2 separate regions of the Homo sapiens genome follow, and region 2 is linked to region 1. Evidence: promoter capture Hi-C in 16 types of primary human blood cells and fetal thymus (Javierre and others, 2016). All regions are on one chromosome and are shown on one strand. The core of a region is centred on a gene start or on the middle of the fragment in contact, and the rest is flanking DNA. Distances in the headings are between cores, read along the strand shown.

Evidence for each region. The method cuts DNA at HindIII sites, captures the fragments that hold promoters and counts their contacts. A CHiCAGO score of 5 or more calls a contact.
Region 2: a fragment that was not itself captured here is called in contact with the fragment with the promoter of TFF2 in region 1 in 1 of 17 cell types (total CD8 T cells); the score reaches 6.9 in total CD8 T cells.

The regions. Positions count from the first base shown.
Region 1 is chr21:42,348,480-42,353,366 of GRCh38, reverse strand. TFF2 (trefoil factor 2) reads left to right here and starts at 2,373. Exons shown (of 4, transcript NM_005423.5): 1 at 2,373-2,488; 2 at 3,337-3,486. The coding sequence starts at 2,410. It overlaps LOC105372815 (a long non-coding RNA gene), which reads right to left and starts at 1,074. Exons shown (of 3, transcript XR_937755.3): 1 at 66-1,074. The HindIII fragment of the contact is 5,593 bases long and covers 1-4,887 here.
Region 2 is chr21:42,542,509-42,547,662 of GRCh38, reverse strand. It overlaps SLC37A1 (solute carrier family 37 member 1), which reads right to left. Exons shown (of 20, transcript NM_001320537.2): 8 at 4,061-4,227; 9 at 523-560. Among named protein-coding and RNA genes, the nearest start is that of SLC37A1, 31 kb to the right of the region's middle. RefSeq lists enhancers at 1,333-1,868, 1,869-2,406, 4,610-5,154 and a silencer at 2,159-2,382. The HindIII fragment of the contact is 7,023 bases long and covers 1-5,154 here.

The sequences.
Region 1 (4,887 bases), core at 1,124-3,623:
GGATTCAGACAAAGGGAGAATGTTAGGAGCTTAGGACATCCTGGGCAGAAAGGACATTTGCATACCCTCTTTCAGAGGTGGAGCTCAAGTTCTGAGTGTGGTCATGGGAGGGTGGCAGAAGTGGCAGAAGTGGAGTGGAGATGGAAGTTCCTAGAGATGAGGAAAAATAAAATCTGAGCGACTGTGAATTTTGATGAAACATCGACCGCCATGTTGAAGATGGCTGGGATGTGGCCAAGTCTTAGCATGACAAGGAACACAGTGAACTCAGTGCTGAAATTCTTAACGAAAGGGACAGGCTGCACAAAGGTCGGCAGATGACAGCAGGGCAGGGACTCCGGACATGGCGCCCTTCCCAGCCTGCATCTCCAAGGAGGATGGTTTTTGCATGAGGGTGAAGACTTGGGGCTCAAAGTCAATGTCCAGCCCCCAGTCTGAGCCCATGTGATGGGGACGTGGCCACCAAGTACAGTTGTGGAGGTTGTGAACAGCTCCACTTTCAACTAGCGATGCCACTCTATTGCAGACGTCCCATCTCGTGTAATGGTTTCCCAACTCTGTGGGCACTCAGTGTCCCTGCGTGGGGGCCTGAGCAGGATTCCAGGGAAGCATGCCTATGACAACACAGGCTTCCGCCAGGGCCAGGAGAGTGAGAGAGGCTGAGAAGTGGTCTCTTTTGCATGGGTCAGGTGGTCGCAGCAGGAATCCTGAAGGGGCTGCAGTGAGCGGTGGGAAGTCGAGTTGATGGGGAGGAAGCAGAGAGGAGAGGTGGGTGGGAATATGAGAGAAAACAATGACTCAGTCACTTATATCATGATGGTGACTAAAGTGACAGGGATGTAGAACAAGGAAACTGACCTTGCCAGAGTTTTCATGGATCGAGTCCCTGTGGTTGCCCAGTGGTGAACAGTCAGCAGAGAGCCTGGAGGTACTTGACCCGGACCCAGAGGAGCCCTGGAGGATGGAGCCTGGAGGACGGGGGCCTGGAGAATGAGGGTCTGGAGGACGAGGGTCTGGAGGAACAGGGGCCTGGAGGACGAGGGTCTGGAGGAAGAGGGCCTGGAGGACAGGGGCCTGAAAGATGGGGGCCTGGAGGATGAGGGTCTGGAGGATGAGGGTCTGGAGGAGCAGGGGCCTGGAGGATGAGGGCCTGGAGGACAAGAGCCTGGAGGACAGGGGCCTGAAAGATGGGGGCCTGGAGGATGGGGCCTGGAGGATGGGGGCCTGGAGGACGGGGGCCTGGAGGATGATGGCCTGAAGGATGAAACCTGGAGGATGGAGCCTGGAGGATGGAGCCTGGAGGATGAGGGCCTAGAGGATGGGGGCCTGGAGGACAGGGGCCTAGAGGATGGAGCCCTGGAGAATGGGGGCCTGGAGGATGGAGCCTGGGGGACGAGGGCCTGGAGGATGGGGGCCTGGAGTATGGGGCCTGCTCTCCAGACCCTGAGGACAGCCCCGTGGTGGACCAAGGATTTTGGGTTTCCTGCGTCTCTGGGCCCCTGACTGCTCAACCATCAGAAACAGACTGGCAACCCCCTGTCATTTCCCTGGCGTGGGGAACTTCGGGTCCCCTCTGTCCTTCCCACCACACTTTTCCCTCTTTCTTTCCGGGTGTCTACTCTCTGGCTTCTGTCTTCTCTGTCAGGTCCACAGAATCCTTCTCCAGCACATCCTACCCCAGGAAGGCCATGGGCTGGGTCCCAGGTGCCATCTTTCAGAAGATGTAGAGCATTCCCATGGAACAAAAATAACCCATTTCAGGGGTTGGCTGAAAATGAACTTATTAAAACCTGCCTGTCACAGGCTACTCCGCTGACCCTGTCAGCCTCATCTCCATGGAGAGCAGCCCCTCCTGCTGAAGATGGGACAAAGGGCATCGTGCTGCGGTTGGGGAGGCTCTAACCACAGCCCTGGGAGCAGTCTCTTACCTCCTCTGAGATGCTTCCCTTCCTCAGGGAGGGGACTTTTCCATGCTATCTGCTGGCCTGTACATTTTCCCCAGTAAACTTGGCCCTAATATTTTCTAAATTCCTGTGGTCCCTGCCCACTCTATCAATAGAAATGCATAGCTTATCCCTTCCTGGGTGTGACCCTGTGTGTGCCCAGCCCCAGACCTGCACGTGGCCGGTTTTCCACGCTGGCAGCCTGGCATGACCCAACTCTCTGTCCAGGGCAGGAAGAGGTATCACCGAGCAGGGAGAGAGTCACCCTGGCCCGGAAGCCTCGCCTGCACAGGGCACAGCTGCCTCTTGCCTCCTCTTCGCCTCCACGGTGGAAGGGCTGGGGCCACGGGGCAGAGAAGAAAGGTTATCTCTGCTTGTTGGACAAACAGAGGGGAGATTATAAAACATACCCGGCAGTGGACACCATGCATTCTGCAAGCCACCCTGGGGTGCAGCTGAGCTAGACATGGGACGGCGAGACGCCCAGCTCCTGGCAGCGCTCCTCGTCCTGGGGCTATGTGCCCTGGCGGGGAGTGAGAAACCCTGTAAGTGAAGGAGAGGGTCTTTTTATGTGCTTTCTTTATTTCTCTTAAAGAAAAAAAAAAAGCACAACCATAAATTAACTTGAGAGGGGGAATGGCTATAAAGGCATCTGGCAATGTGTGTTGTTCACATGGGATTTGCCACTGCTCAGGAGGGTGGCTCCAAGAAGGGCCTCCCTCCTAGGGAAAGGCTGAGTGACGGCAGGTGTCAGCGGGCCCCGTGTCGGGCCAGGAGGGCATTCCCACCAAGGGTCCTTGGAGTCCCAGAGCACTCACCTCTCGCCTGGATCTTGGCCTTGGGTCCATCTGTTCACCCTCCTCTAGGAGGGTTTTGTTTTTGTTTTTTTCCGAGACAGGATCTGGCTTTGCCGCCCAGGCAGGAGTGCAGTGGTGTGATCTTGGCTCACTGCAACCTCTGCCTCCCAGGCTCAAGTGATCCTCCCACCTCAGCCGCCTGAGTAGCTGAAACCACAGTTGTGGACCATCATGCCCGGCCAATTTTTTTTTTTGTATTGTTTGTAGAGATGGGGTTTCGACATGTTGCCCAGGATGGTCTTGAACTCCTGAGCTCAAGCAATCTGCCCGCCTCGGCTTCCTAAAGTGCTGGGATTATAGGTATGAGCCACCATGCCTGGCTTTTTTTTTTTTTTCCTTTTAAACTAATATAACAATTTCAGCAAAGCCCTATCGGCTTCTCAGGAGGAAACCGCATTGCTTAAATATGGGCAAGATAAGACTTTGTGTTTCTCTATGTGGCAACAAGACAGTAGAGGCATCCCCTAGAACCTCTGAGAGAAGGAGCAGTGTGGTCTGGGGTACCAGGGTGGGGCCGACTGAGGGTCTTTCCACAGCCCCCTGCCAGTGCTCCAGGCTGAGCCCCCATAACAGGACGAACTGCGGCTTCCCTGGAATCACCAGTGACCAGTGTTTTGACAATGGATGCTGTTTCGACTCCAGTGTCACTGGGGTCCCCTGGTGTTTCCACCCCCTCCCAAAGCAAGGTAATCTTCCAGGGAATCTTCCTGGGCCAGCAGCTGGCAACCCAGGACCCAGCTTCACAGGCGGAGCCCAGAGCAGGGGCCGGAGGAGGCCCAGTTGCTAGTCTAGGGTTAGCCTGGGTGGGTTAGTCTCGAGCTAGCCCCGGTTGGTTAGTCTGGGGCTAGCCCAGGTTGGTTAGTCTAGAGCTAGCCCAGGTTGGTTAGTCTGGGGCTAGCCCAGGTTGGTTAGTCTGGGGCTAGCCCAGGTTGGTTAGTCTAGGGCTAGTGTAGGCTAGTTAGTCTAAGGCTAGCCCAGGTTGGTTAGTTTGGAGCTAGCGCAGGTTGGTTAGTCTGGGGCTAGTAGCCCAGGTTGGTTAGCCTGGAGCTAGCCCAGGTTGGTTAGTCTAGGGCTAGCGTAGGCTGGTTAGTCTGGGGCTAGCCCAGGTTGGTTAGTCTGGAGCTAGCCCAGGTTGGTTAGTCTGGGGCTAGTAGCCCAGGTTGGTTAGTCTGGGGCTAGCCCAGGTTGGTTAGTCTAGGGCTAGTGTAGGCTAGTTAGTCTAGGGCTAGCCCAGGTTAGTTAGTTTGGAGCTAGCACAGGTTGATTAGTCTGGGGCTAGTAGCCTAGGTTGGTTAGTCTGGAGCTAGCCCAAGTTGGTTAGTCTAGGGCTAGCATAGGCTGGTTAGTCTGGGGCTAGTAGCCTAGGTTTGTTAGTCTGGAGCTAGCCCAGGTTGGTTAGTCTAGGGCTAGCGTAGGCTGGTTAGTCTAGGGCTAGCCCAGGTTGGTTAATCGGAGCTAGCCCAGGTTGGTTAGTCTGGAGCTAGCCCAGGTTGGTTAGTCTGAGGCTAGTAGCCCAGGTTGGTTAGTCTGGGGCTAGCCCAGGTTTGTTAGTCTGGAGCTAGCCCAGGTTGTTTAGTCTGGAGCTAGCCCAGGTTGGTTAGTCTGGGACTAGCCTGGACTGCTAGTCTAGAGGTAGCCTAGAGGACTGCTAGTCTAGAGGTAGTCTAGGGCTAGCCCAGGTTGGTTAGTCTGGGGCTAGCCCATGTTGGTTAGTCTTAGACTAGCCTGGACTGCTAGTCTAGAGGTAGCCCAGGTTGTTTAGTCTGGTACTAGCCTGGACTGTTAGTCTAGAGGTAGCCCAGGTTGGTTAGGTTGGTTAGTCTGGGACTAGTCTGGACTGTTAGTCTAGAGGTAGCCCAGGTTGGTTAGTCTGGGACTAGCCTGGACTGTTAGTCTAGAGGTAGCCCAGATTGGTTAGTCTGGGACTAGTCTGGACTGCTAGTCTAGAGGTAGCCCAGGTTGGTTAGCCTGGGGCCAGCCTGGACTGTTAGTCTAGAGGTAACCCAGGTCAGCCAACAGTGAGATGAAAATTTCCCACCTACCCTGTTTCTACACTGTTAGTTCTTTCAACAGACATGTGTGTGTGG
Region 2 (5,154 bases), core at 823-3,322, 190 kb before region 1:
GCTGCGGGTGGAGGCAGCTAGGGCAGGGCTCATTCATGGCAGCCAACGTGGTCAGCAATCCTGCCTGCAGGGCCTACGCTGGCTGAGCTGGGCAGGGGTACAGAAGAGAAGGAATGGCGTGCTGGGCAGACCTCTCGGCCACCTGAGACGTGCAGCCACCAACTTAAGTGATGGCAGGCAGCTGACACGTGCGTTTTTCCCCGTCACACTGAGGCCCCTGGGGAAACCAGGAGGTCTCCACTCCTGAGGAGGCCTGGCCAGGGCCCAGCCTTTGGTTCCCCTTAGCATGAAGTCCTTCATCTGGACAGCATTGAACCTCTTGTCTGGGTTTTGCTGATAAGGTTATTATCAGCGAAACCCAAAACAGAATATTCTCTATTCCTAGAACTGCCAATGTTTTGAGGGTGGGACTTCTGTCTACCCTGTGTGTTTCTGTCTGACACCGCACAGGCAGGAGCAGGCTGGGGAAGTGGTCAGAACCGCACACTGTTCTAGAAAAGGACAAGAAAACAGGGTCCTTACCGTCACCAGGGTGGAGGAGCACCTGACGTCGTTCGGATCTGAAAGAGCAAACATGAGTGAGGCTGAGCAGGTCCACCACCATGGCAATGCCAAGTAAGCTACGTAACCCGAGGACAGGGCAACACGGGAGCACCGGGTGTGAAACTGGACTGTATGCAGGATTCACATTAAATGAGTGGATTTGAGCTGCTCTTGCCACAAAAACAAAAGCGGGCAGCTGTGAGTTGCGATGGCTATGTTAACTTGCTTCGCTTTACTAGTAACCTTTTTACTATCTCTATGTATCTGTAACACCATGTTGCATACCTTAAATATACACAATAAAATTTAATAAAACACAAGATGCCATCTTATACCTTTACTAAATTGGCATTCGTTTCAGAAAAAAGCCATCGCCATAGCATGCCAGGTGAGGGCAAGGGCACAGCTTGGCTGTCCCACCAGTGACTCCCGCACACGCCCCGGCCTGTCCCCAGTCACTCGGCCTGGCAGCCCACTTGTGTGCAAGGGGGGTATGGCAGATCACCGCCAGCCAGTGCCAACACTGTGAACGTGAACGCTACTTTAAATATGGAAAATACTTCCCAGCGTGGCCAATAATCACAAGCAGAGCATGCGGACGCTGTGTGGACAAGCCCACGACTCTCATTCAGAGGACAAGCCCCAGAAGAAAAGCAAAACCAGGAAAAGCACATCAGGGGAGCGAGGCTGGAAGAATGTCTGTAATGAGGTATTTCATGTTATGAAATTCATTAGAAATAAAAATGAGTGGAGATAAAACATCTATCTTGATATGGAACAAACATCTTTGTGTAAATGCAAGGAAGGGAGGAAACTTGAAAAGGAACAGAACCAGAAGTGAGGCTTCAGCGTGTCCTTTACAGACACCAGCAACCTGCCCCGAGCAATGCGGGAACCCAGAGTCAGACCCCAGGCCTCTAGGTGCTGCGGGAAACCAGCCCTACTGCTTCTCGCTCCACCTCTGCAGCCCCCTCTGACTACCAAGCACCTTGGTCTCTTTATCACCTTGGATGAAACTGGTTACTGCCTTGCAACCCAAACTGAGCTACAGGGCTGCAGGCTCCCCACAGCCAAGTCCATTCCCATACAACACAGGGTGACATCATAGAGGGACATGCAGCTGCCGAGCACACTCCTGCTGGCCTCGAGGCCAGCATCAAACCTCTTGTCTGGGTTTTGTTGATAAGGTTATTATCAACATGCCGTAGGGCCAGGTGGGTCTGCACCCAGAGGTCCGTGGCTGGCTGTGGGGTGCGTCGCCCTCCTGTCCTGGGCACAGCCCATAGGGCGAGGCCACTGACCAAGGACACATGGTCGGCATGTTGGGCAGTCCCAATGGTCCACCTGTGATGTATGGTCACCAATTTAAAGGACATCAGCCAACTCACCCCATCGGTATCCACTCACAGTGTGATGCCCCCAGGGGTAAGCCAGGGGCTTCCCCTGATATGGCTCTTCCTGGACTTTCACCTTCAGGGACTTGGGCACACACGTCCCTTGGCTGGGACACATTTGAGAACAGCTTCAGAAAGGAGACTCAGAGAGGCCTGAGAAAGGAGCAGGGGACGCCCTGTCCTTTGGGGCTCACCCTGGGCAGGAGACAAGAGTGAAGGAGCAGCAGAGAAAGCCACATCCTCTGTTGACCGCAAGAATGGCACATCTGATGCCTTTAGTACCTGCCCAGGATCAGTGATTCGGGACAAGGAGGGGCAGAAACAAACCAAGGGGCACTTGATGTTTCCTCCCTATCTGCAAAGAGCTCCTGTTCTCAGACTCAGCATCCAGCCACTGTTGTCACAGCTGGGTCTCATCATTCAGACACAGTGCACCTCCCAGGCACAAGGGGAAAGAGTGTCAGAAAGATTCCCTGGGCAGGAGGTTCTGGTAGTTTGGTTTTGTTTGGCTAGAGATGAAGCATGCAGCCTTCCTGTAGGTGAGTGGGCCTGTGGCCAGAGGACCCAGGGACAGGGGGCATCTGGCTCATTGCTATCTGCCCAAATTGGATCAGGGAGGCTTATTCACAAGAGCTGAGCTCTCTCTGCTTACAGAGACAAACATCAACATAGGGCCGTGAATGCCTGGAGCGGGTGCTGAGGTCCCGGCCATTGAGCAAGCTCCTTTCCCTTCCACATGTCCTTTTCTCCCCAGAGCCAGCCCCTTTCCAGTTAAGGAAGAGAACAGAAGACCCCATGGACTCTACCCTCAGGCAGGAGACACCCAGGGGCCCCTGTGCGCTAACAAAGAGAGGCACATTGTTCTCCGGGTGGCTGGTGTCTCAAACACTTGGAGCGCAGGGGCACAGAACTCCAGGTTCTAGGAACCAGAGCGGAAGAAAACAGGTGGTGGAAATGGCCTTTCTCAGAACTGCAGTGACACACCAGCCAGAGCTGAAAGCCACATGCTGGCCCACTGGGAGGGATCCAGACCCCCACCCATCCCAGGAGGCCCCTGCTCAGGCTGTTTGGGGTGTGGCCGAAGGCTTACTCAGCCTCTGCAGAAGCGGGGAAAGGGGAGCGGAGTGCAGCCCGGGGCCCCCACTTTTTGCTCACACCAATGGGTGTGTCTGGACATTCCTCATCTGAATGTTTATTTCCATTTTCACCAACACAGAAGCATGGGGTGAGAGTCTCCAAACTCACAGTGTGGCCAGATGATGGTTACCTTAAAAATTAAAAGGTTAGCTTTTGCAAGACAAAAAAAGTGAGCGACTAAATGGAATATGGATGAACTTTTGCATGCAGAGCTGAAGTGATCAGCAATGCCCAGTGTGGCTGGAGGGAGCTGGCTCTGAGTGTCCCTACCTGGCAGGCAGCATGAGGGAGCTGTCTCCTGCCATATGGTTTAAACTCAGTCAAAGAACTAAGAGTTGAGTACAGCTTATCAGAATGGCTTGCGGGATTCGAGCCCCTGTCGTGTGACCGCCAGGGCCACCCGGGCATCTCTATTCTTGCTGTAACTGTCCTGAATCTTCTCAGCACCAGAGCCTGCTGGATCTCTACTTCAGAAATGAATTTCAAATTCAATTAAATAAAGAGTTTGCTATTGAATCTGAAATGGAATAAGAGATTTGATTTTCCAAGAGATACTTTTTACCCAGTTAAGATATTAAGTCAGTCTTTTATAACACTGTCCAAGATATATCTTATCAGAAGGCAAAGAGCTGACTGGGTCCAATTCAGGCTGTGGTGGCAAGATGGGCATGAGAAGGAACAGCCTGTGGGAAGATGGAAGACTCCCATGCATGAACTCCTGATGCCGGGGCAAGGGAGGACAGGAGGACGGGAGGAAGGAATGGGGACATGGGTCACTCCAGAATCAGGGGAGAGTAGGAAATCCAGCAAAACCAGGAGAGAACCGGCTCCCCGGGGAAGTCTCCCTGGTAAGAAGAGCGCTGAGGCAGCCACGGGCAAACAGGGCGCTAGGCCACGCAGCTCTCACACTCGCCCCCAAGGCCCACCCAGGCAGGGAAATCCGAGGCCTCCCTTGGTGGGTGGTCTCCAAGGCCACGTGCACTTACGTTCAATGAGGAAGAGAAAGCACACTATCCCCATGGCTGCCACGATGGCTCCAGGCACGACGAAGGACAGGCCCCAGCATGTGGACACCCAGTAGCCAGCGATCAATGACCCCAAGATGTTGCCCACGGAGGTGTGGGAGTTCCAGACCCCCATAATCAAACCTCTCCTGCAGCACAACAAAACAGAAGACAGAAGATGGAGCTGAGAAGCTGAAACGAGTCCAGCAGTGCAGGGCGCAGCAGTGCCTGCAAAGTAGGGAGTCGGCGCAGAATCAACGGGGGGCCATGCAGACCCTGCTTCTGTGCCATGCAGGACTCGCGATGCTCACGAGAGCTGATGTGTTTATGTGGCCTCAGGCTGTGCCATCACCCATTCTACCTCTTGCTCTGAGCGCATTCTGTACTCAAGAAGAAGAAAGAGGCCTTTCCCTGAAAGTCTTGGAAGGCCTGAAATTAAAATTTGTGCCTCTACAATCAATTAATACATACAGTCACTTGATGAACTGTCATTTGAACAAAACTCATGGATGCACACACCAGGTGAATGAGGCACAGTATCTAAGACTTAAGACCTGATGACGCTGGTGTTCCCGTTTTAGCTTCCGCATCTTGTTTGCGATCGTCCACCATAAATAAGCCTTTGGCCTGGCTGAGCTGAATTTTACAAATAAATAAATTTTATCTGTATAAAATAAAAGCCATTTACAAATAAATCTGGACTCGCCAGGCTGGGTCCCAGCTCTGCTACTTTGGTGCTGTGCGCTGGGTGACCCAGGTCGGGACTTCCCAAACTCCCATGTTAACATGTAGCTTTGGCTTCAAAAGGCCTGGGGCAGGGTCCTGGACTCTGCATCTCCCACAACACCTGGGAGGCCAGATGCAGCTGTCAGAGGAGCCGCCGAGTGACACGGACTTCACCAGGCCCACAGTGGGAGGGCGGAGCTCCCCTGTCTCGTGGGACACAGGCCATCTGAATTTCAGCAATTCAAGCCCCAGAGGTTTCAGCCATCTTATTTTAAAGAGGATACTAAAGTGTTTTTGCTGTAATCAGTCTACAGAAAAACTAAAAGTAAAATGGTCTAGTTTTCATCTGC